Linked DNA regions of Homo sapiens: regions 1 and 3 are each linked to region 2. Evidence: promoter capture Hi-C in human tissues and cell types (Jung and others, 2019). All regions are on one chromosome and are shown on one strand. The core of a region is centred on a gene start or on the middle of the fragment in contact, and the rest is flanking DNA. Distances in the headings are between cores, read along the strand shown.

Region 1 (4,133 bases), core at 204-2,703, 630 kb before region 2:
GCCACTGGCTGCCCAAGGCCAGCCTGGCCCACCTGGCCCAGCTGAGGGGCCACCCAGCCAGACTGACAGGCAGGCTGGAGGCTCCCCCTGAGATGGCCCATAAAGTCATCTTGTGAAACGCAACCAAGAATGAAACAGGGCAATAAATAAAGGCTGACAGTGCCAGGAGTGGGTGGCTGCTTCGCCAGTAGCTCCCCAACCCTTGTTGGCTACGGGCCAGCCCAGCAGCCCCGTGGCATCATCTTTCTGATTGGAGCCCACGATGCAACAGGAAGGTGATGTGCCTGATCCCATATGATGCTCACAGTGATCCTGCTGGGCAGGGATCATTGTCCCTTTATTCCAGGCAGGGAAACTGAGGCTCAGGGACATGTGTCACAAGGTCACACTGCAAGTCAGGAGCAGGAGCTGGGATTCAAACCCAGACCTTGGGACTCTAGAATTCAAACACTTCCCTGTTTCTGCTGGCTCCGTTGTTGCAGTGATGAAGACAGAGTAAGGGGGCATCGACAGCCTCTGCAGCCACTGCCCACTTCCATACCTGGCCCTTTTCCAGCAGCGTGAGAAAACCAAAGCTCAGAGAACCTGGGGGCCATTGGAGCCAGTCTCCTGCCCCGGGGTTGAAGGAAGGAAGCCCCTCCTCTATGCCAGACACTGTACACAGGACCCCTTTCATCCTCTCAGACTTGATGAGATGGTACTATTATCAGCCCCATTTCACAGAGGAAGTGCCAAGGCTCAGAGAGGGAGAGTCGGTGCCTGAGATCACACAGCATCAAGGGACAAGTTAGAGTTCAGCCTGACTTCAAGCTGGCTGCAAAATTTCCCCCACTGAAGCCTAAATCTTATCTAAGCCCCATCCTTTTCAGCTAGAAAAAGTGTGATTCTCTGGGGCCATTTCCAGGAAGCCTGCTCTATGCCCAGCTCAGCTGGGTGGCAAGGCCACAAGGGTGTGTGTGCTCCAGGTTCAGGAAGGCCTGTGGCCACCTTGCCTCCCAGCTGGGAAGCAGAGTAAGAGCTCTCCCGGGGAAAGGGCTGGAGAGGGAGGATTTAATGAGGTCCCAGCCCAACCGCCTGTAAATCTCAGCTGGCTTCTAAAATCAGGAGACATAAAATCCCCATAAGAAGAAAACCCAGATAATCAGGATGGAAAAGCCCTCCAGAAACAGAGAAGCCTGGCTGTGTCCAGGGCCCTCTCCTCCCCAGGGAGGCACCCGAGGGTTCTCTTTGTTTCTTTCTGGGTAGCCCTTGGCCCCTGACAGGTGCCTGCGGCAGGAGGAATGGAGGTGTGAGTTCATGAAGGTTGCTTCACCTTGGGACAGGCAAACAAACGCAGATGGGCTTTCTTCCTAAGAAGCCAAGAAGAAGGCATTTTGTAAGAAAGCTTAGGGAACTGCAGCATGCCTTGGTGGGAGGTGTCTGCCTCAGCGTGCAGTAGGAGCTTAAGTCCTCCCTCAAAAGGAATGGAAGAGATCAGCTCTGATGGACCCCCTACCCTAAGCCAGGCCCCGTGCCAGGCTTCCCAGGATGCCACAGATCAGGCCCCTGCCCTCAGGGAGCCTGCAGTCCCCAGGAGAGACACACATGCCAGAGACTGCTATAGGAACAATGGCTGGGATTGAACCTGGACTGCCATGTACAGTTGTTCAGAATGTGCACTGTTCATATGGCCATGAATCATAGTGCTGCCCAGGGTTATGCAGGGCAAACTGCATGTTGGAGCTATGGAAGGAGGTGCAGGTTCTAGAAGATCCTAGGAGAAAGATAGGCTCGTGTCTGCCTGGAGAGTCAGGGGAGGTTACCAGGAGAAGGGGACTTGCTTGGACCTGAAGGCTGACTGAGGTTTGCACAGTCAGAGGGGACTCAGAACAGAAAAGGGCATACCAGAGAGGGGTCTCCCAAGCCCAGCCTTTTAGCTGCCATCACCATTTCCACAGGGTCCCTGTACCACATGCACCATTATTTACTTAATATTTATTTTCAAAGCATCTTTCCCCTTTTACTTAAATAAATTCAGGTTAAAAGAAGACTTTTATTACCGCCATAAATGAAAAATCAGCATCACTTGCCATAAATAGAGGGTAACTGTAAAAATAAACGCTATGAAAACCAAACAGCATTCGTAAATTCTAGCCAAAGAAGCTTGCCTGCTGAAGGCTATGAGCCTCAATCTCCGTTTTTTTCTCATTAACAAGGGAGACTGGCGAAGGTTAGGTGTTAAAGTCAGAGAAGCACCAGCAGAGACTTTCTTCTTAATCACAAGGGGCTTGGGACGCAGGTCCTGCTCAAGTGTGGACACCAGCGGGCACCCAGCACCAGCCCTGGCTTCCGATGGCCATGGCCCAATCTCACAACCCATCACTAGTTCCCACCTCCAAGCCTTGCTCCTGCTGGGCCACATACCTGGAAAGCTTCCCTGCCACTTCCCTATCCCAATCTTGCCGATTCTTCCAGTGTGGCTCTTGGGACAGCATCCTTGCCCGTAGTGAGAACTAACACCCACTTAAGGAATGAAAATACCTGAATTGCATACTTGGAGAATGAATGAACAAAGAAATGAATGGATGACCCCTTTATGGTCTGTGCTGCTCAAACCAGGAAAGCAACTTCCTGAGGCATTGACTTCACTCCAGAAACATGGGACAAGAACGTTATTTTTGTATTAAAACAAACATGAATATATTATGGGATAGAATATAGAAGTCATAAATTTTGAATGAAATAGGAGACATCAAAGAAATGTTGCCCCTGGTGAGAGCTGTTTACTCTCCTGCGTGGGCCGCACGCCATCAACGGCCTCTTGTCCCATCCAGTCCAAAGCCTCCTTCTCCGCAACCCCAGGCTCCGCAGAGCTCAGACTGTGCTCTACCCACAGGAAGTGCTGGTGTGGTGGCTAACAGGGGAAGGGGCCAGGGGGACGGTCGGGCACTAGGGCGAGGGGGAGCCCAGGATTTACGGTGAGGATGCAAGCCACAGCTCTCCCTGGCGTGCTGGGTGGCATTGTGCAAGCTGCTTCACTACTCTGAGCTCTGGTTTCCCACTGTGTCATTGATTACAGGCTTATTTTGAGGATTAAATGGGCAAATGCAAGTGAAGAGCCTGTTTCAGTGTGTAGCACCCAGAAGGTCCACAACAACCGCTGTTCCCTGGTGGAACCCACTCCTTGCTGAGCCTTAGACACAAGCACATTCACCCAGGTGGGTCCTTGCCTGTCTCTGGCCGATGGAGGAGGGGCCGCCCTGCCTAGTAAAAATTTAAATAGCTAACATTTTTTTTTTCTTTTTTTCTTTCTTTTTTGAGACAGAGTCTCACACCGTCGCCCAGGTTGGAGTGCAGTGGCATGATCTTTGCTCACTGCAACCTCCGCCTCCCAGGTTCAAGCAATTCTCCTTGCCTCAGCCTCCCAAGAAGCTGGGATTACAGGCGGCCTCCACCACGCCTGACTAATTTTTTTGTATTTTTACTAGAGACAAGCTTTCACTACATTAGCCAGGCTGGTCTTGAACTCCTGACCTCGTGATCCGCCCGTCTTGGCCTCCAGAAGTGCTGGGATTACAGGTGTGAGCCACCGCACCTGGCCAAAATTAACCACTTTAAAGTGGACAATTGAGTCGCATCTAGTGCATTCACAATGTGATGCAACTAGTCCCAACATGCTGTCTTCCCCCCAGAAGGAAACTCCTCACTCCCCACTCTCCCCTAACCCCTGGCAACCTCAAATCTGCATTCTCACATTTGCCTACTCCGGATATTTCATATCATCTGCATCATATAATATGTGGTCTTTTGTGACTGGCTTCCTTCATCTAGCATAGAGTTTTTGAGGTTCATCTACCATTGTCGCACACATCAGTAATTCATTACTTTTCATAGAGGTGTTTCTTTAATACAATAAAATATCCTACCTAATCCCCAAAACAACCTGGGAAGTGGCCACTATCATTGTCCTCTTCTTACAGATGGGGAAACTGAGGCACGGAGTGGGTGGGGACTTGCCCAGGTTCCCTGCCAGACACCCCGACATAGCTGAGCAGGAAGTGCTGGAGCCGGCAAGCTGGAAGCAGGGCGCCTCCCAAGGCCACCAGCACATATTGAGGTAGACAGCAGTAGAATTACAAATCTAGGGAGATTTA
Region 2 (4,397 bases), core at 618-3,117:
ATATCTGACCAGTCAGTACTATCTTCAAAACCCTCAAGTTCATCTAAAACAAGGGAAGTCTGAGAAACGATCACAGAGATGATGAGCCTAAAGAGATATGATGACTAAATGTAATAGGGTGCCCTGGATAATACCAGGACAGAAAAAGGACATTAGGGAAAAACTAAGGAAATGTGAATAAAGTACAGATTAGAGTTAATAATAATGTATCAATATTGGTTCAGTAATTGTGACATTTCAGATATTAGTAATAGGGGAAACGTGGGCTATATGGGCACTCACTGAAGTATCTTTGCGATAACTTTGTAAATCTAAAATTATTCTAAAACAAAAAGGTTATTGGGGAAAAAAAGAATGGGTCAACATTTCAAAACAAATAAATAAAAAACCACTGAGACAAGTATAGCTCTCAAGACTTAGCAAATACTAAATCTTCTCTTAAGACTGAAAAACTCAGATTTCACGACTGCCACAGGCCTTCATCTCCCAATGTTGTGTACTGTGCTGGTAGGCCATTCTTGGCTTCTAATGAAGTAACTTTAAATTCTATTGTGAAAATTCAGCTGAAAACAGACTGGGGAATAGAAACCAGTGTCAGAAGTTACTGTTTTAGGCCAGGCACAGTGGCTCTTGCCAGTAATCCCAAACACTTTGGGAGGTCCAGGAGGAAGGATATCTTGCCTCCAGGAGTTCAAGACCAGGCAGGAAAACATAGTGAGACTCCATCTCTATTTCAACTTTTTTTTAATTAAAAAGAAAAAAAAGCCGGGTGTGGTGGCTCCCGCCTATAATCCCAACACTCTGGGAGGCCGAGGCGGGTGGATCACCTGAGGTCGGGAGTTTGAGACCAGCCTGGCCAACATGGTGAAACCCTGTCTTTACTAAAGATACAAAAATTAGCCGGGCGTGGTGGCACACGTCTGTAATCCCAGCTATTCGGAAAGCTGAGGCAGGAGAATCGCTTGAACCCAAGAAGCGGAGGTTGCAGTGAGCCAAGATCCCGCCACTGCCCTTCAGCGTGGACGAGAGAGAGACTCCGTCTCTAAATAAATAAATAGAATGGCTTTAAAAAAAAAAAAAGGAAAGAAAAAGAAGTTACCGCTTTATGGCAATGGGTTGTACAGCCTGGCCCGTCCCATTAAAACAAATTCCTAAGAACCACGCAAAACTAGATTAGAATGCAAAGCTAAGCCACCTCTCTGGGCAAAGTCACACTGGTAGCCGGTGGGCTGAAACTGGTGTGCAGATGCCCTGCAAAATATAATTATTAATCTAAATGTGTTGTCACCATTTTAAAAATGTTTCTCATATTCATTTCTCGCTTCTCTTAGAATTCGTACAACAAACATGGACTGTGCACCTACTAAGGGCTTTACATTCACCACCTCGGTTTACCCCGCAGTACAAGCGTGTATGTCCATTTTAGAAGACGAAACTGAGGGCCAGAGAGGAACCGTGACTTGCCCACGGTAAGAGAGCCATACGGATTCGAACCCTGGCCAGATTCACTCTGGAGCTCAGGGTTCTCCTACTGCTCCACCCGTGGGAGGAAAGGCCCGGACCAGGCCATGAGGAGCCCTGGGTTCTGGCCCAGCCTCCGCACGAAAGCGCAGGGCTGCCCCAGGCGAGGCCCTCCGCCTCCCGGGGGGCTCAAATTCCCCTCCGGAAGTAACTTTCGAACAACCGCCGAGGGAACGTATTCAGGCCCTGAGCGGAGCGACAGCCGGGCCCACCAAGCGGCGCCGCTGGAGACAGGCCGGCCGGGAAAGCCAGGCCACCGCACCGAGGACGGCTCTCTCTCGGTTCCCACCCCACCGCAAAGCTGCGGCACTCACCTCCCGCGCCGCCGCGCCGCTCCCCCGGAAGTAGTTCCCTGCGACCCTGAGTCCCGGAAGTGACGCGCACTGAGCAACCAACCGGCTCTGTTCCGCCCGCGTTGCCAGGTTTCTGGGTGAGGCACCGCTGGGTTTTGTCGACTTTTGTCCCTGTTCTGTGGGTTCGAGCTGGACAAAGAGGTTTGGGGAAATGAAATCTAGAGCTTGTCAATTCTTTAAGCTCCTATATCACTCAGCTCGTTTCAGCAACATTTTTGTTTAATTAAAAAGAAAACAAAAGAAATTACTTCTCGGGGCTGGGCACGGTGGCTCACGCCTGTAATCCCAGCACTTTGGGAGGCCGAGGCGGACGGATCACTTGAGGTCAGGAGTTCGAGACCAGCCTGGTCAACATGGTGAAACCCCGTCTCTACCAAAAATACAAAAATTAGCCGGGCGTGGTGGCGGGCGCCTGTAATCCCAGCTGCTTGGGAGGCTGAGGCAAGAGAATCTCTTGAATCCCGGGAGGCAGAAGTTGCAGTGAGCCGAGATCGCGCCACTGCACTCCAGCCTGGGCGACAGAATGAGACTCTTCCTCAAAAAAAAAAAAAAAAAAAAAAAAAAGTTACTTATTCATCGCAATGGGCTGTATAGCTTGGCCCGTCTCATTGTAACAAATTCGTAAGAACTGCGCGAAACTAGATTAGAATTTTGTCCTATGCAAAGCTAAGCCATCTCCCAGAGCAGAGCACAGTCACAACTGGTAGCTGGTGAGCTAAAACGGGTGTGTAGCTGTCCTGCAAAATGTTCATCTGGATGTGTTGTCACTATTTCAAAAGTGTTTCTCACGTTCATTTCCTTAATTTTATGCCAGGTCCTGAGCTAGGAGCCTACAATGCAGAGAGGAGACAAACAGAAACACCTCTTGTAATTCAGACAGAAGCAAATCATTATAATTCATTCAAAAAGCATTCACTGAGCGCGTACTCTATGCTTTGTCCTTGTAACTGAGGACACAGTGCTAAAGCAGACACATACAGTCTCTGCCCTTGTGGTGCTTACAGTCCGTTGGAGGGAGACAGACTAATTAAATGAATGTGTAATCATATAACAGGATAAGTTTTTTGAAGGCAAAGAACAGTGTTCCATGATTAAGAAGGGGTGGGGGGCAAGTAGTAGGAGAAAAAGAAACCTAGATGAGAGTGTGATAACCAGCCTCCACCATAAACCCTGACGATTCTTGGCTCCTGATATCCATACCCCTCTGTAGTCACCTCCCACCAAGAATAAGACTGACCTGTATAACCCATAGGATATTGCGGAAATCTTGGAGCACGAGTTCCAAGATAAAGTCATAAAAGACATTGCAACTTCCTCTTTCCTCTGTCTTGATTGCTCATGGGGAATCCATGTTGTGAAGACACTCAAGCAGTCCTATGGAGAGGCTCGCATGGGGAGTAACTGAGCTGCCTGCCAACAACCAGCTCCAACTTGCCAGCCATGTGTATGAGCCAAGTGGCTCCAGCAGTCCTAGTCAAGCTTTCAAATGACTGTGGCCTGGCCAAAATCTTCAGTGTAAACTCAAGAGCAACCTTGAGCCAGAAATACCTTGCAATGCCACTTGAATGCCTGCCTCACAGAAATTGTGAAATACTAAATGTTATTGTTTTAAGCTCCTAAGTTTTAGGATAATTGGTTATGCAGCCTAGATAACATACATAGAGGATCAAGGAACAGAGGTTAGATACCAGAGACTCCAAAAAAAAAAAAGAGAGAGAGAGAGACCTATCTTGCCCTAAAGGAATTCAGTCTCTTAGAAGACAAATAATACACTCAACATTCACTAATCCCATACTATGTGAGGTGGCATGGGGGACCCAAAATGCATAATTTATTCATTTAAAAAATATTTATGGAGTTTCTACTCTGGATCATGCACTATGAAACTGGGAAGACAATGGTGAGTAGGTGGGATCCTACCCTGACTGTGCTTATAGACTAGGGGTCAATGTCTGTCACCCCCACTAATCAATCACACAGATAAATGTACACTTAAAAACCATGAGATGTGTTGGGAAGGAAGAAGGGGGAGCCATGAGAGAAGCAATAACATGGGAGATACAATCAAAAGAGAGGTGATGAGGGAAGACGTCCATGAGATCACATTTCTGGTAAGAAATGAAGAGTGGTGGCTCACGTCTATAATCCCAGCACTTTGGGAAGCTAAGGTGGACAGATTGCTTGAGCCCAGGAGTTTGAGATCAGCCTGGGCAACATGGCGAAACCCCGTCTCTACAAAAAATACCCAAAAAATTAGCCAGGCATGGTGGTGTGCACCTGTAGTCTCAGCTACTTGAGAGGCTGAGGCAGGACAATTGCTTGAACCTAGGAGGCAGAGGTTGCAGTGAGCCGAGGTCGCACCACTGCATTCCAGCCTGGGCAACAAAGCAATACTCCATCTCAAAAAAAGAAATGAAGAATGAGGAGGACTTTGCCAGGCAAAGAGAAGGAGGAAAAAGCACGATGGGTGGTGGAAAGGCTGGGTAGTGAGAAACGGCTTGGAGCCTAAGAATAGCTGAGGGG
Region 3 (4,162 bases), core at 697-3,196, 690 kb before region 2:
ACAACCACAATACCATTATCACACCTAACCAAATTAACAATGATCCTTTAATATTGTCAGATATTTTCAGTGTCTAAATTTCCCCAGTGTGTTTGGATCAGGATCCAAATAAGTGATATACATTGCTGGTATCAGTATATTCCCTAATAAATCTCTTTTAGGCCGGGTGCAGTGGCTCATGCCTGTAATCCCAGCACTTTGGGAGGCCGAGGTGGGCGGATTACCTGAGGTCAGGAGTTCGAGACCAGCCTGACCAACATGGAAAAACCCCGTCTCTACTAAAAATACAAAATTAGCTGGGCGTGGTGGTGTATGCCTGTAATCCCAGCTACTCAGGAGGCTGAGGCAGGAGAATCACTTGAACCCAGGAGATGGAGGTTGTGGTGAGCCAGGATTGCGCCATTGCACTCCAACCTGGACAACAAGAGCGAAACTCCATCTCTAAAATAAAAAATAAATCTCTTTTAATGTGTAGATTTCCCCCTCCACCTCTCTCTCATTTTCCTTGTAAGTTTTTTGGTGGAGAAACACGGTCATTTTTCCTACAGCATTTCCCACCGTCTGGATTTATTGATTGCATCCCTATGGAGGTCATTTCTTGGGCCCCTCCTCTCACCTGTGTTTCCTGGCCATTGGGAGGCAGAGTAAGAGTCGTGATCAGGATTGAGTCTCTTAGCTTTGTTTTTGGCACTTCTCCTCCATAGGTGGTGTTACGTACTTCCATCAGGAGGTATGTAAGTCTGATCTTACTGTGTTATTAGCAACCATGGTGATCTCACTGGAATCCACACACTCATTAGGGATTGCAGAGTAATGCTGTTCTAATTCTGCCATGCTGGCTTGCTGTTAACCAGAGTCCTTGTGTAAGGGGAACCTTCCCTTCATCAACCATCTGGTAACCTACCGGTACAGTTTGTATGGAAAAGGCAAGATGGCACCTGCCTGTAATCCCGGCTACTCGGGAGGCTGAGGAGGAGAATGGCATGAACCAGGGAAGGCGGAGGTTGCAGTGAGCAGAGATCGCGCCATTGCACTCCAGCCTGGACGACAGAGCAATACTTCGTCTCAAAAAGAAAAAAAAAAAGAAAAGAAAAGGCAAGATAAATACTCGATTTTTTTCTAGCTGAGAAATTTAAAACACACAGATTATGTAAATTGAGGTGCACATCCCACCCCAGGGCTCCCATGTATGCTGAAGGATCCCAGGGATGATGAATGCTTCCTCACAGGTGCATGGTGAGGCACCGGCTAGATCACAATTCCGGTGACATAGATAATCCCCAAACTCTTAAAAAGCCCAGAGGGTGCCTGGCATGGGGACATATTGGTGTGAGGGTCCCCAGCCAGCTCTGGAGAGGCCCCACTCAATTCCTTCTCCACTCCGCCCTGCAAGGGCCGAGTTATGTCCAGCTCCAGTCTCGGTGGCGGCAGCCTGGCTCTGTCTGGCTCCTGAGCCCTCAGGGAATCCTTCTCTTGGGGCTTTTTTCAGTTCTGCAGCCTGTAAAGTGGAGGGATTGGACCAGAGGGGGAGCTCTTCATCTGTTGGGATTGTGGGGACCCACTCCCCAGAAACTTGCTCCCGCTCCTCCCTTGTTACCCCCAGGAGGGCACTGCATCCTCCAAGACTGCAGTGGGCACTATCTCATCTGCTGAGGATGCTTCACTGACCTCACAAGATTCCATGTACAATTCCAGAGGCTTCACCTGTGACCCCGCAAGGACCCCAAGTTAAGAACCCCCTCAAAGAGCAAGATAATCACTTAACTCTCTTTGAGCTTTAAAATTCTGGGATGATTTCCTTTGGAAAAAGGGAGGGAAATGCCTCTAATTACGGAGATGGTAAAAGCATTCACAGCATTGTTCCTAATTCCACTGGGGACCCAAAGTGATAGGCTAATTCAGTCTCCAGATTCTGACAAATGAGAAAACAGGTCAGGGAGGTGGCATGACTTGCTGAGCATTACTTAGCTCTCCCGGTGAGATTAAAGTAGCCTGCCTTCGCAGAGCATCTGGGTGTGGCAAGCCGCGATGCTGTCCTGAGAGGCCAGGAAGATGTGCACACGCATCCTGATAAAAACTTGGACTCTGCGAAAGCTCTCCAGGAGATAATCAGCATAAGAGGATACACCATGGCTCTCCGAAAACCCACTTCTTCCTCAAAGAGTTAAGCTATCTTGAGTTGCTTTCAGATTCTTGCAGGCAGATTGTTGCACTTGATTTAAAAAAAAAAAAAATCTCATTAGAGTGCATCTCCAGTTATGATTATATTCAGGCAACTTTAATTTTGAACCTGTCCAGCTGACTCAGTCTAGTCCTTGTTAACATAAGCTTTGCAAAATACTCCATTCCCCCTGTTAAAACTTGTGGAGTAATAGGGGTTTCTTATTTCACTCAGGGCGCACCAGCACTTCAAGTATTGTTTGGGCTGGGGTTAGGGGTTGGTATAGAATGAATAAGTAGATACTGCAAGGCCTTGAATTTCAGCTTGAGATGTTTGAGCCGTGATCTGCAGGCTGTAGAAGGCTCCTGGAGGATGCAGGAAAGTATAGACCTGGACCCAGGGGATCCTTGGAGATGGCTGGAGGGGGGTGGCTGTGGTCTTCAGAAGGCACTGTGTTGTGGAAGGAGCATGGATGATTTGGAGTTCCTCAGCGCTGGGCTTCATTTCTGACTCCGCCTCTCTGTAACCGTGTGACCTTGGGCAAGTCATTTTACTTCCGAGCTGCATTTTCCCATCTCTGAATTAGAGCTGTTGCCACTGCCTCTTCAGGCAGCTGCATCAGAGGGGATGGATGCGGTAGTGTTTCTAAAGCATCTGACACTGTGCCTGGGGCTCCAGCAACATCTTTCCCCCGCTGCCCATGGCTTTGTTATGGCTGCAATACACACTCCTCTTGACGGTTACAGCCGAGGAAGTAGATGGTTAGGTCTCAGCATGTACCACCCAGAAACTAAAATAGAACCACGGTAGGGTGAGAGAATCAAAGAAGGCTTCTAGGAGGAGGTGACGTCCTAGTGGACAAGTAGATTTCAGCAGACAGAATAATGGGCATTCCAGACAGGAAAAATCACATGCCCAAAGAGCTGTGGGCATACCTGCCAGTATCTGTACACATCATAACTCGGTTGGGAGTGACAGGAGACCCAATTCAAAATTGGCTTGAGCAAAAAAAAAAATACCTTGGCACACAGAACGAAGAGGCCCCGCAGGCACAGCTCCCCCAGCCTGTCTGTCTTCTGATGCTGCTTTCCCCAGTGGTGGCTTCACTCTGACTCCAGGCTCCTGTTCCTTCAGCATCACACACCCAAGTGAATGTGCACCTCCTAACAGCTCTAGCCAAAGGCCTAGGATTGGGTTGGATTTTTAGAGATGGGGTCTTGCACTGTTGCCCAAGCTGACCTGGAACTCCCGAGCTCAAGAGATCCTCCCACCTCAGCCTAAATCCTAGGATTTGCTCTCATTGGCTCAGCCGGTGCTTTGCCCAGCCCCAAACCAAACTTGGTCCATCTACAACGGGTGTCAGCAACTTTCTCTGTAAAGGGCCAGAGTGAATCTATTAGGGTTTACAGGCCATACATAAAGGTCTCTGTGGCATCTTCTTTGACTTTTTTTTTCTTACAATCTTGTTGTTGTTGTTGTTGTTGTTGTTGTTGTTGCTGTTGTTGTTGAAACAGGGTCTTACTCTGGTAGCACAGGCTGGAGTACAGTGGTATGATCTCAGCTCCCTGCAGCCTCAATCTCTCTGGCTCAGATGATTCTCCCACCTCAGCCTCCCAAGTAATCTGGGTTTACAGGCGCACACCCCCATGCCTGGCTAATTTTTTGTATTTTTAGTAAAGATAGGATTTTGCTGTATTGCGAACCAGGCTGGTTTCAAACTCCTGGACTCAAGCAATCAGCCCACTTCAGCCTCCCAGAGTGCTGAGATTACAGGTGTGAACCACCGTGCTGGGCCGCAATCTTTTAAAAAACGGAAAAATTCTTTTTTTTTTTGAGACGGGAGTCTCGCTGTGTCGCCCAGGCTGGAGTGCAGTAGTGCAGTCTCGGCTCACTGCAAGCTCCACCTCCCGGGTTCATACCACTCTCCTGCCTCAGCCTCCCGAGTAGCAGGGACAACAGGCACCCGCCACCATGCCCGGCTAATTTTTTTGTATTTCTAAT

What was found. The method cuts DNA at HindIII sites, captures the fragments that hold promoters and counts their contacts. A contact is called where the count stands out against the background at its distance.
Region 1: a contact is called between a fragment that was not itself captured here and the fragment with the promoter of MANBAL in region 2, in 1 of the 25 tissues and cell types used here (dorsolateral prefrontal cortex).
Region 3: a contact is called between a fragment that was not itself captured here and the fragment with the promoter of MANBAL in region 2, in 1 of the 25 tissues and cell types used here (lymphoblastoid cells).

The regions. Positions count from the first base shown.
Region 1 is chr20:37,916,479-37,920,611 of GRCh38, reverse strand. All of the region lies in intron 1 of VSTM2L (V-set and transmembrane domain containing 2 like), which reads right to left. It overlaps LOC124904896 (a long non-coding RNA gene), which reads left to right and starts at 1,620. Exons shown (of 3, transcript XR_007067576.1): 1 at 1,620-4,133. RefSeq lists an enhancer at 2,884-3,385. The HindIII fragment of the contact is 6,050 bases long and covers 1-4,133 here.
Region 2 is chr20:37,287,125-37,291,521 of GRCh38, reverse strand. It overlaps MANBAL (mannosidase beta like), which reads right to left and starts at 1,867. Exons shown (of 3, transcript NM_001003897.2): 1 at 1,836-1,867. RefSeq lists enhancers at 993-1,897, 1,970-2,079. The HindIII fragment of the contact is 10,035 bases long and covers 1-4,397 here.
Region 3 is chr20:37,978,439-37,982,600 of GRCh38, reverse strand. No RefSeq gene overlaps it. Among named protein-coding and RNA genes, the nearest start is that of TTI1, 53 kb to the left of the region's middle. The HindIII fragment of the contact is 8,966 bases long and covers 1-4,162 here.